Regions from separate parts of the Homo sapiens genome. Here regions 1, 2, 4, 5 and 6 are each linked to region 3. The links are contacts of gene promoters, found by promoter capture Hi-C in blood cells and fetal thymus (Javierre and others, 2016). All regions are on one chromosome and are shown on one strand. The core of a region is centred on a gene start or on the middle of the fragment in contact, and the rest is flanking DNA. Distances in the headings are between cores, read along the strand shown.

Region 1 (2,957 bases), core at 129-2,628, 480 kb before region 3:
AGCAGACTTTTGGCAGGGGGTGGTAGATACATCAAATTGACCCAGGGTGCTCAGGGACGACCTGGAAGTGTCACATGAGTTATGGGTCTCCTGGCGGGGCGGAGAGTCACCGCTGAGCTCCACCTTTAGTCCCTGCCTCAGGGCTGTGTGCAGTATCCTGAAAAAAGCCGGTCTCTTCTGTTGGCTGCCCCCCACCCCCCCCCCAAGCCTGAGACGTGCTGAGACCCAAATGCCAGTAGCGGGCGGGAGGCAGTGCAGAGACCTGTGAAAATCTTCCGATGTGACCAACCCACCCCCACCCAGGGGAATCCACGGGGCGCAGCGGCAGCGCGGTCTCGACGGTGGGGAGGACAAGGCGCCCATTCTCCAAGTTACTAGGGTGGCGCAAGCGCCTCTCCCTTTAACTGCCCAGGCAGCCCCGCCTGCTATGCCCGGCAGTCAAACCAGGTCCAGACCCCGGCTGTGCCGCCCCCACCCCCCAGCAGCCCTGCCGGCTCCCCACCCACACAGCTCCCACTGGGAGGTACCTGACAGTGGTGGTCCCATCTCACCCTCCCGGTCCAAGGGCCCTGGTGGGAAGCGACCCGAGCGTATTCGCCGCCCGCAGCTCGCGCGCCTGGGCACCCGGGGGCGCTCACAGTGATCGCGGGGCCAGCACACCCTCACCCAGGACATCCCTTTCCTCCCCCCAACCCCAACTCCGGAGTGGCTCAGAGGGAGGGAAAGTAGATGCCGGCACCCTACCCCGCCCCTCCTGCCCCCGCTGTGCCGTTCTCGGTCGTGGTATCGGCCAGGCCTTACCCCTTCCTCCCTGGCGCAGCTGGGGTCCTCCTCCGGGCCAGGCAGAGCAGGCGGGCATCAGAAGTGGGGGCCAAGCAGGTGGGTGAGGGCAGGGCAGGAGCAAGCAGGGGAGATGCAGACGGGGCGGGGCCAAGCAGGTGGGTGAGGGCGGGGCCAAGCAGGTGGGCGGGGAGGGGGCGGGGCCAGGCGGGGTAAATGCACACTGGAACGGGGCCAAACAGGTGGGCGAGGAGGGGGCGGGGCCAAGCGGGATAGATGACACGAGCGGGGCTAAGCAGGTGGGCTCGGGCGGGGGTGGGGGTGGGGGCGGGGGCGCAGGCGGGGGCGGGGGCGCGGACAGGCCAAGCCAGGGGGTGAGGCGGAGGCAGGGCCAGGCCGGTCCGTGGGGAGAGGGCGGGCCAAGCCGGTGGGCGCGGGCAGGGACGCCCTGTGCGCGCCGGACCGGCGGGGGCGGGGCGTGCAGGCGGGGGCGGGGCACGCCGTCCCATGGGACCGGCCCTCGGCCACTGCCCCCTCCGGCCCCGCCCCGAGCGCCCGGGCTGGGCCGGCAGCGGCCCCCCGCGGCGGGGCTGGCAGCAGTGGCTGCCCGCACTGCGCCCGGGCGCTCGCCTTCGCTGCAGCTCCCGGTGCCGCCGCTCGGGCCGGCCCCCCGGCAGGCCCTCCTCGTTATGGCCGCGGCCTCCTCCCCGCCCAGGGCCGAGAGGAAGCGCTGGGGTTGGGGCCGCCTGCCAGGCGCCCGGCGGGGCAGCGCGGGCCTGGCCAAGAAGTGCCCCTTCTCGCTGGAGCTGGCGGAGGGCGGCCCGGCGGGCGGCGCGCTCTACGCGCCCATCGCGCCCGGCGCCCCAGGTCCCGCGCCCCCTGCGTCCCCGGCCGCGCCCGCCGCGCCCCCAGTTGCCTCCGACCTTGGCCCGCGGCCGCCGGTGAGCCTAGACCCGCGCGTCTCCATCTACAGCACGCGCCGCCCGGTGTTGGCGCGCACCCACGTCCAGGGCCGCGTCTACAACTTCCTCGAGCGTCCCACCGGCTGGAAATGCTTCGTTTACCACTTCGCCGTGTGAGTATCGCCACCGGCGACGGCCGGCACGAAGGTGCTTCCTGAGAGCTGGTGTGGGGGAGCTCTGTCCCAGCGCCACCTGCCCCGTCGGAGCTGCGACCCCGGAGCAGAGGAGGGAAGGAAGTGGGGAAACGCAGAAACACAAACTCTGCACTCTCCCTTGAAGTTCAGAGGCGCTGCTGTGTCTGGGGGTGCGCATCTTCTCGCAGGCCCGGCGTGGGGAGGGAGCCGGCTGGGGAGGGGACCACCTGGAGCCCAGAATTTGGCTCCACACCTCCGGGAGGGTAGTCCAGGTGTGAATCCTTCTGGGAAGAGAAGCGTGCTGGGGAGCGCACCCTTGGGTGCAGTAAGATAACTCCTCAAGGTCGGCTGAGACTCGAGGCTCAGGAGCCCCCAAGAGAGAAGGCCCCTGATGTCCGGTGCCGCATCTCAGACCCCCTGAGGCCCAGGTGGACTCTGGGGCAGGGGGCTGTCCAGGATAGGAAGGTGACGGTGGCGGTGCTCCCTGAGGGCTCAGCATGCCACGGGCCGTCCCCACGGGCCCCACATTAACTAATTGAACCAAGCTCATGAAAACCTGGCTTGATGCAGAGAGCGGAGAGGCACGTTTGCAGCTCTCACTAAGAGGCAGCTGTGCTCCCGGAGAAAGCAGCGCTGGTAGCAGAGGCACCTGGCCCCCCTGTTACCAGGTGGTTCCAATTCCCGGTACAGCGTGCCTGAGCAGGGCTGGGCACTGGATTTCTCAGGGACAGGCCTGGGAAGTCACCTCCGGGAAGGTCCAGGCTGCTCTCCTCCATGCCTGCCTGGGGCCTTCCCCCGCTGCCCCAGTGGCCCTACTTCCTGGCTGCCCAGCCAGCGGCCTTTTGGTGTGGTGCCAGCCTCTGGCCTGGGAGCCTCTACCCAGACATCCCATGGCTGATGGCTGTGGGGCTCACCTGAGGGCTGAAGGGTGGTCTCCCTGAGCGTCCTCAGGTGGAAGCATCTCCTCTGCCTCGGGCAGGCTCAGTAGAGAACTGGCTGGAGGGCATCCAGAGGCCTGTCCATGCCTGCTGGCAGCTGCCACCAGGGCCTCAGGGCGGGTGACAGCAGGAGCCAGGCCCCA
Region 2 (3,017 bases), core at 20-2,519, 440 kb before region 3:
ACTATTTTTAAGCACACAGTTCAGTGGCATGAAGTACATTGATTTTGTTATGCAACCATCACCACCATCCATTTCTAGAATTTTCTCATCCTCCCAAACTGAAACTCCATCCCCATTAAACACCAACTCCCCCATTCTCTCTTCCCCAGCCCCTGGCACCTACCATTTACCTTTCGTCCCTATGGATTTGACTAATCCAGGAACTTCATAAAAGTGGGATCATTGAGTACTCTATTTGTCTTTTGTGACTGGCTTATTTCACTTGGGCATAATGTCCTGAAAGTTCACTCATGCTGTAGCATGTGTCAGAATTTCCTTTTCCTTTTCAAGGCTGAATAATATTCCACTGTATGGATAGACCACATTTTGCTTATCCATTCATCTTTTGATGAACATTTGGGTTGCCTCCATGTTTTAGCTATTGTGAATAATGCTACTATGAATATGGGTGTACAAATATCTTTTCAACGCCCTGCTTTCAATTCTTTTGGGTATATACCCAGAAGTGGAATTTCTGGATTATATGGTAATTATAGTTTTAATTTCTTGAGGAACCACTATGCCGTTTTCCACAGTAGCTACCACATCCTCACCAACACTTGTAATTTCTGGGGTTTTTTAATAGTAGCCATTCTAGTGGGTGTGCAGTGGTATCTCATTATAGTTTTGATTTACATTTTCTTATGAGTAGTGATGTTGAGTATCTTTTCATGCTCTTATTAGCCATTTGTATATCTTCTTTGGAGAATATCTCCTCAGCTCTTTTGCCCACTTCATTAAATTGAGAGGTTTGTTTTTGCTGTTGAGTTTTAGAACTTCTCTATATATTCTGGATATTAATCCCTTATCAGATATAGGATTTGCAAATATTTTCTCTCATTCTGTGGGGTGCCTTTTTACTCCGTTGATAGTGTCTTTGTACAAAAATTTTTAATGTTCACGAAGTCCAAGTTGTCTACTTTTTGTTTTGTTGCCTGTGCCTTTGGTCTTTGTGTTAGTCCATTTAGCATTGCTATAAAGGAATACCTGAGGCTGGTAATTTATAAAGAAAAGAGGTTTAATTGGCTTATGGTTCTGCAGGCTGTACAAGAAACATGGTGCCAGCACCTGCTTCTGGCGAGAGCCTCAGGAAGCTTCCAATCACGGCAGAAGGTGAAGCGGGAGTAGGTGTCTCATATGATGAGACAGGGAGCAAGAGAAAGGAGGTTCCAGTCTCCTTTTAACAACCAGATCTTGCATGAACTCATTACCTAATCATGGGGAATCTGCCCCTATGACCCAAACAGCACCCACCAGGCCCCACCTCCAACGCTGGGGATCACATTTCAACATGAGAGTTGGAGGGGACAAATATCTGAACTCTATCAATGTTATATCCAAGAAATCATAGCCAAATCCAATGTCATGAAGCTTTTGCCCTATGTTTTCTTCTAAGATTTTTATAGTTTTACGTTGCACATTTAGATATTTGATCCATTTTGAGTTAATTTTTGTATATGGTGTGAAGTAAGGGTCCAGCTTCCCTCTTGCATGTGGATTTCCAGTTTTCCCAGCACCATTTGTTGAAAAGACAGTCCTTTTCTCATTGAATAGTCTTGGAACCCTAGTCAAAAATCATTTAACCATTTATGCCACGGTTTATTTCTGGGCTGTCTCATGTTCCATTGGTTTATATGTCTGTCTTTTTGCCTGTGTCACACTGTCTTGATTACTGTAAGTTTATAGTAAAGTTTTGAAATCAGAAAGTGTTAGGCTTCCAGCTTGGCTTTTCTTTTTCAATATTGCTTTTGGCTATTTTAAGTTCCTTGAGATTCCATATGAATTTTAGGATGGGTTTTTCTATTTTTGCAAAAAGTGTCATTGGGATTTTGAGAGGGATTGCACTGAATCTATAAATCACTTTGGGTAGTATTGATATCTCAACATTGTCTTCTAATCCATGAACATGGGATATGTTTCCATTTATTTGCATCTTTTTAAGTTTCTTTCAGTAATGTTTTGTGGGTTTTGCTGCAGAAGTCTTTTACCTCCTTGGTTAAGTTAATTCCTAAGTATTCTACTTGATGCTATTATAAATTAAATTGTTTTCTTAATTTCATTTTTAGATTGTTCATTGTTAGCATATAGAAATGCAACTGATTTTGCATGTTTACCTTAGATTCTGTAACTTTGCTGACTTCATTTATTAGCTCTAATAAGTTTTTGTGGAATCTTTAGGGGTTTCTACATATGAGATTATGTTATCTGTGAATAGAAATAGTTTTACGTCTTTTTTTTCCATTCTGGATGCCTTTTATTTCTTTTAATTTTTTTCTTGCCAAATTGCTCTGGCTAGAATTTTCAGTACAATGTTGAATAGAAGTGGTGAAAGTGGTCACCCTGGCCTTATTCCTGACCTTAGAGGGAAAAATTTCAGTCTCATCATTATGATGTTAGCTGTGGATTTTCACATATGGTTTTTATTATGTTAAGGTAGTTTCCTTCTATTCCTAGTTTGTTGAGAGTTTTTAATAAGGATGTTGAATTTTGTCAAATGCTTTTTGTATCAATTGAGATCATGTGATCATGTGAGTGTTATTTCTTCATTCTGTTAATATGCTCTTTTACATGGATTTATTTTTGTATGTTGAACCATCCTTGCATTCCAGGACTAAATCTCACATGGTCATGATATGTAATACTTTAACTATGTTTCTGAACTCAGTTTGCTATTTTGTTGAGAATTTTGCATCAGTTTTCATAAGGGATATTGGTCTGTAGTTTTCTTGTAGTCTTTGTCTGGCTTTAGTATCAGAGTAATGCTCTCCTCATAGAATGAGTTAGAAACCTTTCCCCTCCTCTTTAATTTTTTGGGAAAGATTGAGAAGGATGGGAGTTTATTCTTTAAATATTTGGTAGGATTCATTGGGGAAGCCATCAGGTCCAGGCTTTTCTTTGTTGAGAGTTTTTTGATTACTGATTCAATCTCCTCACTAGTTATAGGTCCATGAAGATTTTGTATTTCTTTGTGATTTAGT
Region 3 (3,081 bases), core at 1-2,500:
CCTCAGGACACACCAAGGAGCAGAAGGTAGCCAGGGTCAAGCCCCAGGGCACTTCCTGGCCTCTGGGGAGGCTGCTTGGAAAAGAGGGTGTGGACCAGGCCCAGCAGATGACACGATTCATTTATTCATTCAAAGCCGGTTCCCAGCGCCTTTCACACCAGCCCCGCAGGACTGGATGAGGGTGTCCTGCCCGCCCATTCCTGGGCCTCCACCCTCCCAGCAGGAGTCTCACTGAGCCACAGCCGGATGGTAGAAAAGCAAACTGGCCAAGTGATTTATTTGCAATGGGCACAGTGATGCAAAAACAAGATATTAAGACTATAAAATATGTGACTACAAAGAACCAGCGAAATAAATACATAGATATTAGATAGTCCAATAACTTAAGGCGCCCGTGCAACGGAGCGAGGATCCGCGCGCACGGGAAGTTCTTCTGCTGCAGGGCTGGAGAGCGCCGGCCACGTCCTAGCCTCGGTCCGACTCGTCCAGCGTATGGCCCTGTGGGGAAAGGACTGGGTCAGAGAGCTGTGCCAGGGCCGGTCCGGGTCCAGCCTGAGGGGCCCCGAGACCCTGACGCGAGGGGGCCAGCGCGATTGCGGGGCGCCGGGTCCCCCAAGGAGGTGCAGCGCCCCCGCCCCGCCGTCTGGGGTTGAAGTGGTTTTTCCCAAAGGCCCCGGTCCCGGCTGTTAGGGCGCAGGGCTCGCCGGGACGCGGGCAGTCACTCACCGCGGCGGGCTCATGGCGTGCGGGGTTTGGGCTGCGGGGATGGCCTGGAGGGCTCCGAGGGCTCGGAGGGTGCGGCGGCCGCGGCAGCCACGGCGTCCTCGGCGGGTGCGGCGGGTGCGGTGCGTTCCTGGCGGCTGCGAAAGTCCTGCAGGGCGCGGCGGTTCTGGAAATCGATGAGCGCCAGCGCGATGGCCGCGTTCCAGCAGCTCTCGCCCGCGCAGCGGAAGTCGATCTCCTTGTGGTCGGTGGTGACGATGGTGAAGTACACGTACTTGCCCGTGCGCTCCACGCAGTCCACCTTGAGGATGGAGTGGAAGCGCAGCTCCTTGGGGCGCGCGCGGGGGCTGGCGGGGAACAGGCTCAGGCGGTCGGAGGTGAGCACCCCGCGCTTCTTCTTCCATAGCTGGAAGAGGCTGTCGCTGCGCTTCTCCAACTCGCCCTCGCGTAGCACCTCGTCGGGGGATTTCATGTCGTGCCGAGCGCGGGACTGGGAGCGGCAATGCGGGCGGTGACGGCGCCGGCTCTGCTCCTCGTGGCCCCGGCGCGGCCTTTATAGCTGCCCCTCCCCGCCCCGCCCCTCCCCGCCCCGCCCCGGCCCTCGGGCCACCCCGCCCGCCTGAGCCCCGCGCGCCCCGGGCCATACCCTCCCCAAGCCCAGCCGTCCGGGCCCGCACCGTCGCGTCCGCGCTCTGGTCGGTCCCCGGCCGTCCCCTCCCATCTCAGAAGCCCGCGCTCCTCTTGCCCCCCGTGCCCCAGCTGTCCGGCCCCGTGGGGTGACTCGAGGTCCCGCCCCGCCCGGGCGCTCGCCCGCACCGTCTCGCAGGCCGGCCCCGCGGAAGAATGCGCTGCAGCCAGCCCTGCCCGCGATGACTCACGCCGGGGAGCCCCGGGAAGCACCCGCGGGCCCGGGGCCGGCCCACCGTGGGGAGACAGCCGGGACCAGACCTTCACCCTCCAGGCGCCCCAAGTCCAGCCCTGCCGCTCTCGGGCTCCCGGGGCAGAAGGAGGGTCGAGGCCCCCTTCCTTACTCCCGAGCCCTGGCCGTTCCGTCCTGTTCGGGGGCCTTTCCCAGGGCCGCCCAGAGACCCTCTCCGAAAGTGGCCCTGCCCTAGCGGACCGAGCTCCTATCTTGCCACCCACGGGCTGCGCCAAGAACGACCACCTCTCTTAGCCTCGGTTTTCGCTTCTGTGAAATGGGAACAGTAACCTTTGCTGGATTAGGGAACACGTGGAAAGGGCTAGACCAGCAACCCATAGAGCTCAGAAAATGGAAGGGGAAGAGGAAGCCCGTTCTCCTCCCTGCGCCCTCGTAGTGTCCCGAACTGGGGTACGGACTGCTCCGACCGCGCCCCCACGACCCGGACCGGAGAGAGGTCCCAGGAGCTGAGGGGTTCGGGCTGGGCCGCGACGCCCGCTCTCTGGGATCAGCCTGGGGGCGAGGGTCGGCGGGGGCGGCTGAGTCATCGCTTTCCAGCTGGGCAGACGGGCGGTTTTATTTACCCTCTTCCTTTAAAGGGTTTAATAGACAGGAAGCGAAAGCCGGCTCTTCCCGGGTTCCCAGGGGTGGGGGTGGAGCCGGCCGAGAGGACCCCAGAGACCCCGGCTACTACTCCACGTCTCCCACCTTCCCGCACCCCTGCCCCCTAGCTGCGCCCTGGGGTGGTTACAGCAGGAAGTCCCAACTCTGGGGTCAGAATTGGCCTCAATGACGGGGCTCACGCAAAATGAAAACGAGAGTCCCCTGATTCAAAATGTATTTAAAATGTCAAGACAGTGGCAGCAGAGCGTAAAACCCAGACCTGGGACCAGCCCTACCTCCACCTGCCCTTCAGGGTCACTGTAAAGGATAAAGAGACGTCCGGCTCAGAGGAGCGCCCCAGACCCGGTTCTGTGAATGGCATGCAGGTAGCAGCTGCCCGGTGGTCCCACCGGTGTGGCCAGAGGACCTGGCAGTGGGCAGGGATGTGGTGTGGAGGGGCAGTGCCGGCAGAGGGCAGGGTTGGGCTGTGCCAGGGTTCTGGCCTGGGAGTGAGACACCTGCCTGGGGCCGGCGGGTCAACACTGCCCCCTACCTGACACCTGTCCTTGCAGCAGGGCTGGGATCCTGTGGTGAGGGAGCAGCAGGTAGGGTGGGTGGGTGAGGGGAGGTCAGCCTTTGGCGGGGAGAGGGGATTCGAGCATTGTTCCGGAGAGGCTGCAGGAAGGATTCGGACTCTGGTGTCCCTTCTTTTGCTTCCAGAGGGCCCTGGGCTGCCGGACAGTGGGACCTGGGCAAGAGGCACCTCTGGGCAGTGGGAGACCAGGAGAAGCGGCCGGGGGCAGAGCGCTCTGTCACTGCGCCAGCCCACAGGTGCC
Region 4 (2,912 bases), core at 1-2,500, 420 kb before region 3:
CTATTTCTCCCTTCGGTTCTGTAAATTTTTCCTTTGTGTCTTTTGATCGTTAGCTGTTAGAGGCATAAATGTTTATAATGGTTATCTGTAACATCTTCTTGCAGCCTCGAACCTTTAAGTGTGCAGCGTCCTCTTTTGTCTCTTGTGACCTTTCTAGGTTTATTATAAAACCATTTTTGGCTGATGTTAGTGTAGCCACTCTGCTTTTTGTGTTTGCCATTTGCATGGAACCTCTTTCTCCACTCTTTCCACCCTTTCACTTTCAATCTTTTTGTGTCTTTGGCTCTAACGCGAGTCTCTAGTAGACAGCATGTAGCTGGATCATGTTTATCTATTCTGCCACTGCCGATATCACCTTTTGATATACAGACTTTACATTTTCATAAAATTTAATTTGTCCACGTGCTTAGCCCCTGTGATCCAGCAATCCCACTGCTAGTTATATATCCAAAAAGAAAGAAAATCAGTCCAGCAGGGACAGATGCGCACTCCTACGTTTACTGCGGCACTGTTCACCGGAGCCTGTGCCTTCAATGTCGTATTCAAGAAATCATCCTCAAATCCAAAGTCTTTCTATTTTCTCCTATGTGTTCCTATTGCTTTAGGTCTTACATTTATACCTTTGACCCATATTGAGTTAATTTTTTATATCCAGCTTTATTCTTTTGCATGTAGATACTCAGTTATCCCACCATCATTTGTCGAAAAGACTATACGTGAACTTTTTGAATTTGCTTTTCTCACGTAATAGTATTTCCTAGAGACCACTACATATCAGTTCGTGGGGTCCTTCCATATTCTTTTTTACAGCCACCCCATACTTTATGGTTGGATGTGCCATGCTTATTCAAACCCTCTCCTATTTATGGGCATTTAGGTTGTTCTGATATTGTGCAATGATAAATAATGTTGCAAAGTATAGCCTTATACATATGTCTATTGTATTCTTGAAACAATGTTGCAAAGAATAACTTCGTAGGTATGGATGTTCCTATTGTTGGAGGTGTTATCTTCAGGGTAGATTCCTAGAAATGGGAGTGTTGGGCTGAAAGAGAAGCCCGTAGTTTTGTTGGATGTGACCAAATTTCCCTGCAGAACGGTTGCACATTTGCACTCCCCCAGCAATGCATGAGCATACCGGTTTTTTCTACAGTTGCGCCAGCAGCGTGCTGTCACACCACTTTTTGCCAGGTCCATAGCTTTGTTTTAATCTGTATTTCTGTAATTACATTGAATTTGAATGTTTTCCCTGTGTCTAAAAGTCATGTGTGTGTGTATTTGTAAATCGTCTGTCTTCTCATTTCCAACTTCTTCCATTGGGTTTTTGGTTCTTGGTCTCTCAATTTTTAAGTCATTTATATTGTGGGAACGTTTGTCTGGACTAATGTGAATTGTTTTCCCAGCTGGTCACTTGTCTTTGACTTTGCTTATGGTGCTTTTTGCTATGAGAAATTTCGCATGTTTATATCATCAAATTTATCATGCTTCTTTCTACTGACTCCGGATTCAGGGCCACAGTTGAGAGCTTTTTCCTCCACCGAGGTTAAGGGGAATCCACTGTGTTTTCTTCTGGAGGTTTGGGGTCTTGTCTTCAGCATTTAGCTCCTTGTCCGTTTGGAGTTTGCTCTTGTGCATGATCTAAGGTAATCTTTTCTCAGAGAGTGGCCTGAGACCTCTTCCTTAGAAGTTCACCCCACTGGCTGGGGCCTTCACGAGGCCCCTCTGGCCTCTAAGTGGAGCATGGAGTGTGGGGTCATCGGGCAGGACACGAGATGCGCAGGAGGCTGTGACTGAGGTGGCTGTGGGATGGGACGGCGTGGTTTGCTCTAGAGGGTTTGAAGGAAGGGTGAGAAGTCAGGACCACTGCTGTAGAAAACAGGGTTTGCAGGTAGATAAGGTGGCGGGTGCAGCGGGAGGAAGAGAAAAGGATGCTGCTGGGACCCCTCGCACCTGGGAGGATGCACTTTCTGTTTCTGACATGGGTCAGGGTTGGGGCGAAGGAGTCCAGCTGGGGACATGTTATTTTGGAGGTGTTTGTGAGGCAGCCAGGTGAGGTGGGTTGAAGGCAGTAAGACCTGCAGGTGGGAGCTCTGGGGAGAGAGTGCGGGCTGGGCTCACAAGTTAGGGGAGGTGTCAGTGTGTAAATGACATGAGCGCAGGGGCTAGACAGGGCCTCCTGTAGCCTGGGTGGGTGGAAGGGCAGAGGGCAAGGGCCAAGTGATGGCAGCTGTGGAGGCTGAGGGCAAGGAAGGCAAGTCCGGGAGGTTGGGTGTCCTGCAGCCTCCACAGGGGCAATGGAGGAAGAACAAAGGACTCTGTGTTGAGCCCTCCTGAGAGGTTTTGGAACTGGCCTTGACTTGGTGATGTGGGGTTATGAGTTTTATTCCACACACGTATGTGGGAGTCTGGGTCCTGGTGGGTCCCAGCCCCGTACATGGAGGCTGGGACCCTGCCCTGAAACCTCTCAGACACAAACACCCAGCTCGGCCCCACAGAGCTGGCCTGGGCCCCAGCAGGGGTCTGTGTTGCCTTGGCCCCACGGCAGTGGAGCTGGGGTTTCCCAGGGATGCTGCTGCTGAAGGTGAGGTTTGCAAACACTAGGCATGCATGTTTGAGGTACCACAACCTCCACCAACCCATGGTGGTCACCAAGGGTCTTTGGGCTCCTGTGGGGACCATACTGGCTTGTCTGACTTGCCGTTACCCGGCGGAGATATGTCTTGGAAAGACTTTAGGCCAGGAGCCCATCATTGTCCTGGAACCTGGGCTTGGCAGGGCAAGCTTTGGGGAGCACTGTCCAGACAGTGCCCTGGACACTGCACCTCAGGTCAGGACACAGCTCCCGAGGCCTGGCTGCTCTGCATGGGGAGGAGTGTGGGTCCTGAGTGGAGTGTCCCATCTGTCATGCAGAG
Region 5 (3,348 bases), core at 75-2,574, 410 kb before region 3:
TAGTGTGTGCGGCAGGGCAGGTCATGGAGTCTCCAGCCTTCAGCTCGCGTTAGCCCCAGGCCATCTGAGCCGTGGAGCCCACCCAGGCCCGCTGCCTGCACCCCGGGGGAGCCCTCCCACAGCGTCTCGGGCTATGACCCTGGCAGGGTTCCTGCATTCTCCTGTGTTCCCGGGCACCCGGGGCTGAGATGTTGAAATGATGTCGGATAATTCACCGGGTGCCTTCGGGGCTGGTACTCGCCGTCACTGCTCCTGAGGCCTATTTGCTGTCAAGGGGAACAAGTAGGAGGTTGTTTTCTGGGGTGCGGTGGGCTCCCCGCTCATGCAGCTCCCCGCCCCCCGCATGACCACGCCCTCTTGGGAGCTCGGGTGGGACAGCATTCAGGGGACCACATGAGCTGGGGGGGGGTCGGTGTCTTCTCTCCCCCACCCCTTCGCTAGCCTGTCCTGCTTCCCACTCCGAGTCCAAAACACGCATAGGATTCGTCCTCTCCCAGGGCCTTAGTTTCCCGGCTCTGCAGAGTGGGGGGCTGTGACTGCCTGGCCTTGGAGCTGAGGCAGAGGGGGTGGTAGGTGGCCCTGCAGAGGCAGGAGGGGACACAGGCACCCCAGGCCCTGAGTGCCTCAAGGGCAGGGACCCCAGCTCGGCACCTGTGAGGTTCCCAGCTCCGCCCGAGACAAGAATAGATAAAGCGGTAAATAAGATAAAACTCTTTTTATCTGGAGTAGATAAAAGTAAGCTTTGTCATATAATTCCTTCTGAGGCTAGCACGGTATATCAAAATATCGGAAGAATCATTTAGCCTTCAGAATATGGCAAGGCTGACAGCCAGCCTGGCCCATGGGCACCTGTCCCCACCATCTGCCTGGCCTGCGGGGGAACGTTCCTCAGCCCCTGCTGGCTCCCAACCCCCGGGCCTGGAGCCCTGTCTTCTGCCTCAGCCGCGATTCCACTGCACGGGACTTTCCCAGGCACCTCTGCCCAGGTAGTTGGGGTGGACGCCCACTTGGGTGCACACTCTGTGGGGGCTGGTCCAGGACCACCCATGTGCAGTCTTCCCTGGCCACATCCTGTATTCTCCCGCAACGCCCAGTCAAGAATCTTCCTGCTGCAGTAACTCCACATATCTGAGCCAGCTGTGTCTCCTGAGCACAGGACATGGGCAGGAGAGGCCCCTGCAGCTGGAATCCGCGCCATGAAGCCCAGGCGCGTGGTATTTGCAGCCAGTCACCAAGTTTTCAAGCCCTCACCTGCGGCCTGTGAGTGCCCACCCTGCACATGGTGCTAACCAGCATCCATCACTGCTTTCTTTTTTAATTTAATTTAATTTTTTTTTTTTTGTGGTGGAGTCTTGCTCTGTCACCCAGGCTGGAGTGCAGTGGCGCGATCTCGGCTCACTGCAACCTCCACCTCCCTGGTTCAAGCAATCCCCCTGCCTCAATCTCCTGAGTGGCTGGGATTACAGGAGCACACCACCACCCACGCCCAGTTAATTTTTTCATATTTTTAGTAGAGACGGGGTTTCACCATGTTGGCCAGACTGGTCTCGAACTCCTGTCCTCAGGCAATCCTCCCGCCTCGGCCTCCCAAAGTGCTGGGATTGCAGGTGTGAGCCGCCGCGCCCGGCCCCACCACTGCTTTCTATGCTGTGGCCGAGGTCACCAACTGCCACTGTGATGGACGGCTGTCACCCAAACAGCACGAGAATCGAAAAGCCGTGATGGCAGATGCAGAAGGCAGCGTCGCCTGTGGTCTTTTAGAAGGGCAGCTGTGAAGTGGGGTTATCTCAGCTTCCACATTGCATCACGGTGCCCCTGTGAAGGGCAGAGGAGCTGCAGGTAATTCTGTTCGCTCGCCTCTGCCTTGGAGGAAGTTTACAGTTTTTTTTTTTTTTTTTTTTGAAAGTTTAAAGCTTTCAACCTGGGCCTGGAGGCTGCAGGGTCAGCAGACCTGGGTCCTGCCCATGGCCCCCTTCCCTCCTCAGGCCTCCATTTGCTCATCTGAGAGTGGGGGGAGTGCAGCGCCTTCCGTGCAGGTCACTGAGAGGCTGGGGCAGTGGCGTGGATTCGGGTGCATGACTCGCAGACATGGCTGTCGCTTGGCTGAACGGTGGCCCCTGAGGTGTCTGTGTCCTTGTCCTGTGAACAAGTTAGGTTGTGTGGCCAAAGGGGCTTTGCAGGGTGACTGAGGGATGGCTCGTGAGAGGGGAGGTTGTCCTGGGTTACCCGGGTGAGCCCTCACTGTGATTGTGAGGATTCTTCTAAGAGAAGCAGGAGGATCTGAGTTGGAGGAAGAGACGGGAGGATGGAAGCCAGGCTCGGCGACGGGAAAGCTGCTGTGCCACCCTCACCGCAGCCCTATCCCTGCTCACGTGCACCAAGACCAGAGCCTGGCAAGTCGTCTCATACCGAGGGTCAAAGGGGCCCAGGGCCCAGCCTCCAGGGACCCCAGCCATGCCGGGTCAGGGAACCAGGCTGCAGTCCTGTGTCTCCTCCTCAGTTTACCCCAATTGTGACCTCAGAAGCCCTTGGAGCCTCAGTTTCCCTACTTGTAGCATGTGTTTGATGATAGTGTGGCAGTGATGTCACAGTCTGGCAGGGTCTCGTGGGGGTCTGTGTTACTGTCTGCAAAGCACTGGCTGGGCCAGTGGTCAGTGAGCAGGGGCGTGGGTAGCGGGCAGTGGCCTGCAGTCCCCAGGAGCACTTCCTGTTGCTGAACAGACAGCAACTTAGTGGATCCTTCCCAGGGCCCCTGGTGGGTGGTGGGTTTTGCCACATCTTTGCAGTAGACAGCACTGGCAGCTTCCGGCTTATCCAAGGCCTCAGGGTGAAGTCGACGCTCGCTGCTGATTCCCTGCTGGACGTCAGGTGACACTTCCCTCCACAGCCTGGGAAGAAGCACCTGTGGGCCACTTCTTTGTGTTGATAAGGAAACTGAGGCAGGGGAGCTGCCTGGGTCACCAGTGGGCACTGCATCTCCATGTGCAGATGGTGCCCTGGCCCTCTCTGCACGCCGTGGGCCTGGGGAGCAGGCAGGTGGCATCTTCTGCCCCGGGCAGCCCGGCTCTGCTTCCTCGTGGCTGAGCCAGGCTGTGTCTAATCTCACTTCCCTGCTCACTGCAAATCAAAACAAACAGACGTCCAGGAGGATTAAGTGTGGCAGTCATGGCGGAGGGAGCCCTGGTAGGGTGGAGAGAGCCAACAGTTGCACCAGCAAGGGGCAGAGACCCAGCCCAGCCCTGGGGGCTGCAGGGTGTGGGGACAGGGCCTGCAGCTTGGCACAAAGACTCTTCTAAGAACCTGGAGGGAACCCTGCTCCGGCAGTGGGCAGCATGCTGTGTGCAAGGT
Region 6 (3,319 bases), core at 85-2,584, 380 kb before region 3:
AGGAGCCTGTAGCATTCAGAGACAGGGGAGCAGGGAGCGGTGGGGGATGAGGTCAGGGAGGTGGCAGGACCTGGCGTGTGAGGGCTTGGGGCGACTCTGGGGAGTTAGGGTTTCGCTCTGCATGACAGGAGCCTGGGGCCTGGCATGGTGTGACTCAGACTTAACGCCGCCCCTCTGACTGGTAGAGGCCAGGCCCAGGATAAGGTGGCGGCAGGCAGGTCTCTAAGCAGTGGCAGCTCAGACCCGAGGTCCCAGGGTCATGCGTGTTTGTCCTGATTGCACGAGTCGTGTGAGCACAGAAACGTAGGTGGAAAGATGGTGGCTTCGTCCAGGGAGGTAGACTGGGAACGTCTTTTGCTGCTTCCCTTGGATTTTGTTTCTCAAAGTCTGAATCAAGCGTGGCAGAAGAAAATACAGCAGAACATGGGATGGGAATATCCATGCGTATAATCGGTCAGGTTAGTTGCTGTATTCTGACTTATTTGAAAGATTTCATAGCGAACAAAGAAAAATTCCGGTATAACTATAATTTTTCCATAGCAGTTTATATTCCCTTTCTCAGCCTTGTAGGTGTAGGTGGAGTGTCCTAAGCTCTGGGGGTGGGGGGACACGTTTACGTGTCTGCAAACCGCTACATTCTGCTAAGACATCTCAGGAGCCCGCCAAGCCCTTAGTGAAAAGTTTCTTAAGGCGGTTTCATAGGTGCGTGTGGGGCTGTTGGATACAGTGACCCACTTCAAGGTGACATCTTCTTCTTGCATCTCAGATAGCACCAGGTTTGTGTGTTTATGCGTGTGCACACACGGTGTTGGGCTCTGGCGGTGGCCTGGGGGTGCTTAGGCTGTGCACAAATGCCCACGCACGTACACACACAGACACACAGCCTGACTTGGCCCAGGTGGGTGGGTGTCTGAGGAGAAGTTCGCCATTGTCGACTTTGGGGTAAAGTGAGGACCTGTCTGGCGGGAATAAAGGGGCCCTACTGTCCCCCGACTACCACTGCCCCAGCCCTCCTGAGCCCCTGTGACTGAAAAATCCTCACTTTGGAGGATGTTTGGTGACAGGTGCTGGGGCCCGGACACGACCTGGTTTCTTCATCCCAGGGGCTGTCTCCAGGGTGGGTTCTAGAGTACATCCAGCTTCCACCCAAGGGAGAGTGGCTGGGTGGAGAGGGGGCAGGCTGAGATCTGAGAAGCCAGGCTAGGGGGTTGTGGAGCAAATGATGATGTCTCAACCATGTGGCTTTAGGTCCCCAGCACGTGCTAGTGGCCATCAGCAGGCTACAGCATCCAGCCAGTGCCACCAGGAGCCCACTGGTGCCAGGATGCTGGGGTGGGGCTATGGGGAAGGAAGACATGTGGGCCAGGGTGCGGGGTGCGGGACAAACCTGGGTCCAGGCACCTGGGGCGACCCTCCTTGGCCGTCCTTGCCATCCTCGCCATCCTCTCTCCACACATCTGACCTTTGCCTGCTTTGGGGGCAGTTTGAGGCCTCAGATTTTCTACCTCAAAGCGATGGAACCCAGAAGACATGGGGCCCTCGAGGAGGGTCCCCCGGGGGCTGCAAAAGCAGAGGGAGTGGAGTGTCACCGGGTGTCCCGGCGTGGGCAGGTCCTGTTGTGGAGCCTCGTGACCTGCTCATAGCACAGCTGGGACACTTCCAGTGACTGCTCTGCGAGGCCCGGGGTAGGGGCGTGGGGGGGCCTCCTCCTCCCAAGCACCTGGGGTGGGAACAAGAGGCGTTTTGTGTTCTGCATGGGTGGCCCTGGGCTCCCCAGGCCTGGTGTGGGGGTGCCTGGGGGGCAGTGGACGTGAGCAGCAGCACGTGGCCCCCAGTCATGAGTACCCCAGGCCCCTATGCGCCTCCTTCCCCATGACTGGCCCTGGGTGGCGGAGAGACCCCTGGGCAGGACACCCCTCCCTGGCTTTTCCTTCTGCACCACTCAATCTGGGGGTTCCGGCTCCTTGCCCACCGCCCCCGCCACCCAGCGCGAGCCGCGTAGAGGAGCAGGAAGGGAGCCAGCTCCACCTCCAGTAGACCCAGAGACGGGGAGGCCAGGGTGCAGGGGACTGTTTGGGCCTCGAGAGGGACGGACCCCAGAACTGGACCCCAATGTGCAGGTCTGGGTGTGGATGTATCTGTATGTCTTTGCGGAGCTCAGATGAGAGATGCTCAGAGTTGTCTGTAGAGAACCAGAGCTGCCGAGCCCCGGCCTGGATGGACATCCCGCAGGCAGTGCACGTCCCTCCCCCGCCTCTCTTTGCCGTTGCCGGGACTGGGCCGTGTGCCTGGAGTTTGAACTTTTCTGATCACGGGGTGAGAGGGTCTTTGCAGTTGCAGAGCCGTGGCGCGGCGCCTGGATTTCCGACACACTGCAGCATCTGCATCCTTGCCGTCACCCCTCACACCCCCTGCTAGGGTCCCTCTGGGGGTTGAATGAAAAGGCATAGGTAGAAGGTGGGAGAAGCCCACGTTCTGGGAGCGTCGCAGTGGCCCAGACACCCATGTTCCTCCCTAGGCAGCTCCATGCGCGGGCCCCGGAGCTGGAAAGCAGCCAAGGGCACTGCCCGCCCTGGGAGCTGATGCCTGACATGCATCCTCGCCTAGGCCAGAGTGCCAGGCAGGGTAGGGGAACAAATGCCAACACGTGAGCTGAGTGACCGGAAGAGGGGGCGCCTCCCTGAGCAGGTGAATGAAGGGTGCTGGGGTGGCGAGTTGAGGGCCAACAGAGATGGTGTCCCGGCTGATGTAGGGTCAGGGGCTTCTGGAAGGAGCCTCACAGGAAGGGCAGGGCAGCACCAGGCTCAGCCCAGGACCAGAGCGCAAATAGGGCTGGAGTCCCGAGTACAAGGCATGGACAGGAGCCAGGCTTCACCTAGCACCTGGCTCCCCGGGGGCCCAGATGGCAGGCGAGGGGTGCCTGGGGAGGCTGCCAAGTGAGGGGGGGGCACAGACTGAGACAGGGTCCCCGTGTTCCATCCATGGGGTACAGCTGCTCCCAGGCCAGACTCTGGTGGTAGCAGGAGGCAGGGGAGGCTGTGCTGAGCTCAGTGGGCTTGGTGGGGTCATAGCTGCCTCTCCCTCTAAATAGATTAACTAAAAAGTATTGTTGACTGACTCATGCATTTCTTAGGTTTTCTTATTTTCTAATTTCTTCTTTTAAATTTAGGTTTGTCGAGGTTTAAGTTACATACAGGAAAACTCTCCCCCTCTGTAGATGTCCAGTTCGATGAGTCCTGGCAAACATTTATGGTCCTGTAACCACCCCCAAAGTCAAGATCCAAGGTGTTCCCATCACCCGAAAGCTCCCTGGTACCCA

The links. The method cuts DNA at HindIII sites, captures the fragments that hold promoters and counts their contacts. A CHiCAGO score of 5 or more calls a contact.
Region 1: a contact is called between the fragment with the promoter of KCNQ1 here and the fragment with the promoter of PHLDA2 in region 3, in 6 of 17 cell types (neutrophils, non-activated CD4 T cells, naive CD4 T cells and 3 more). The highest score is 7.6, in neutrophils.
Region 2: a fragment that was not itself captured here is called in contact with the fragment with the promoter of PHLDA2 in region 3 in 7 of 17 cell types (total CD4 T cells, naive B cells, naive CD4 T cells and 4 more); the score reaches 7.1 in total CD4 T cells.
Region 4: a contact is called between a fragment that was not itself captured here and the fragment with the promoter of PHLDA2 in region 3, in 8 of 17 cell types (fetal thymus, total CD8 T cells, naive CD8 T cells and 5 more). The highest score is 7.9, in fetal thymus.
Region 5: a contact is called between a fragment that was not itself captured here and the fragment with the promoter of PHLDA2 in region 3, in 9 of 17 cell types (monocytes, total CD8 T cells, naive CD8 T cells and 6 more). The highest score is 10.0, in monocytes.
Region 6: a contact is called between a fragment that was not itself captured here and the fragment with the promoter of PHLDA2 in region 3, in 16 of 17 cell types (naive CD8 T cells, naive CD4 T cells, fetal thymus and 13 more). The highest score is 14.2, in naive CD8 T cells.

What each region holds. Positions count from the first base shown.
Region 1 is chr11:2,443,630-2,446,586 of GRCh38, forward strand. KCNQ1 (potassium voltage-gated channel subfamily Q member 1) reads left to right here and starts at 1,379. Exons shown (of 16, transcript NM_000218.3): 1 at 1,379-1,855. The coding sequence starts at 1,470. TRPM5 (transient receptor potential cation channel subfamily M member 5) reads right to left here and starts at 885. Exons shown (of 29, transcript NM_014555.4): 1 at 802-885. RefSeq lists silencers at 1,179-1,288, 1,299-1,368. The HindIII fragment of the contact is 13,739 bases long and covers 1-2,957 here.
Region 2 is chr11:2,485,558-2,488,574 of GRCh38, forward strand. All of the region lies in intron 1 of KCNQ1 (potassium voltage-gated channel subfamily Q member 1), which reads left to right. Among named protein-coding and RNA genes, the nearest start is that of KCNQ1, 42 kb to the left of the region's middle. The HindIII fragment of the contact is 277 bases long and covers 1,132-1,408 here.
Region 3 is chr11:2,928,170-2,931,250 of GRCh38, forward strand. PHLDA2 (pleckstrin homology like domain family A member 2) reads right to left here and starts at 1,251. Exons shown (of 2, transcript NM_003311.4): 1 at 727-1,251; 2 at 104-498. The coding sequence starts at 1,195. The coding sequence ends at 737. RefSeq lists enhancers at 528-1,136, 1,137-1,746, 1,747-2,355. The HindIII fragment of the contact is 14,179 bases long and covers 1-3,081 here.
Region 4 is chr11:2,505,593-2,508,504 of GRCh38, forward strand. All of the region lies in intron 1 of KCNQ1 (potassium voltage-gated channel subfamily Q member 1), which reads left to right. Among named protein-coding and RNA genes, the nearest start is that of KCNQ1, 62 kb to the left of the region's middle. The HindIII fragment of the contact is 3,057 bases long and covers 1-2,779 here.
Region 5 is chr11:2,521,871-2,525,218 of GRCh38, forward strand. The region is part of intron 1 of KCNQ1 (potassium voltage-gated channel subfamily Q member 1); the gene reads left to right. Among named protein-coding and RNA genes, the nearest start is that of KCNQ1, 79 kb to the left of the region's middle. The HindIII fragment of the contact is 1,173 bases long and covers 739-1,911 here.
Region 6 is chr11:2,547,942-2,551,260 of GRCh38, forward strand. All of the region lies in intron 2 of KCNQ1 (potassium voltage-gated channel subfamily Q member 1), which reads left to right. Among named protein-coding and RNA genes, the nearest start is that of KCNQ1, 100 kb to the left of the region's middle. The HindIII fragment of the contact is 5,009 bases long and covers 1-3,319 here.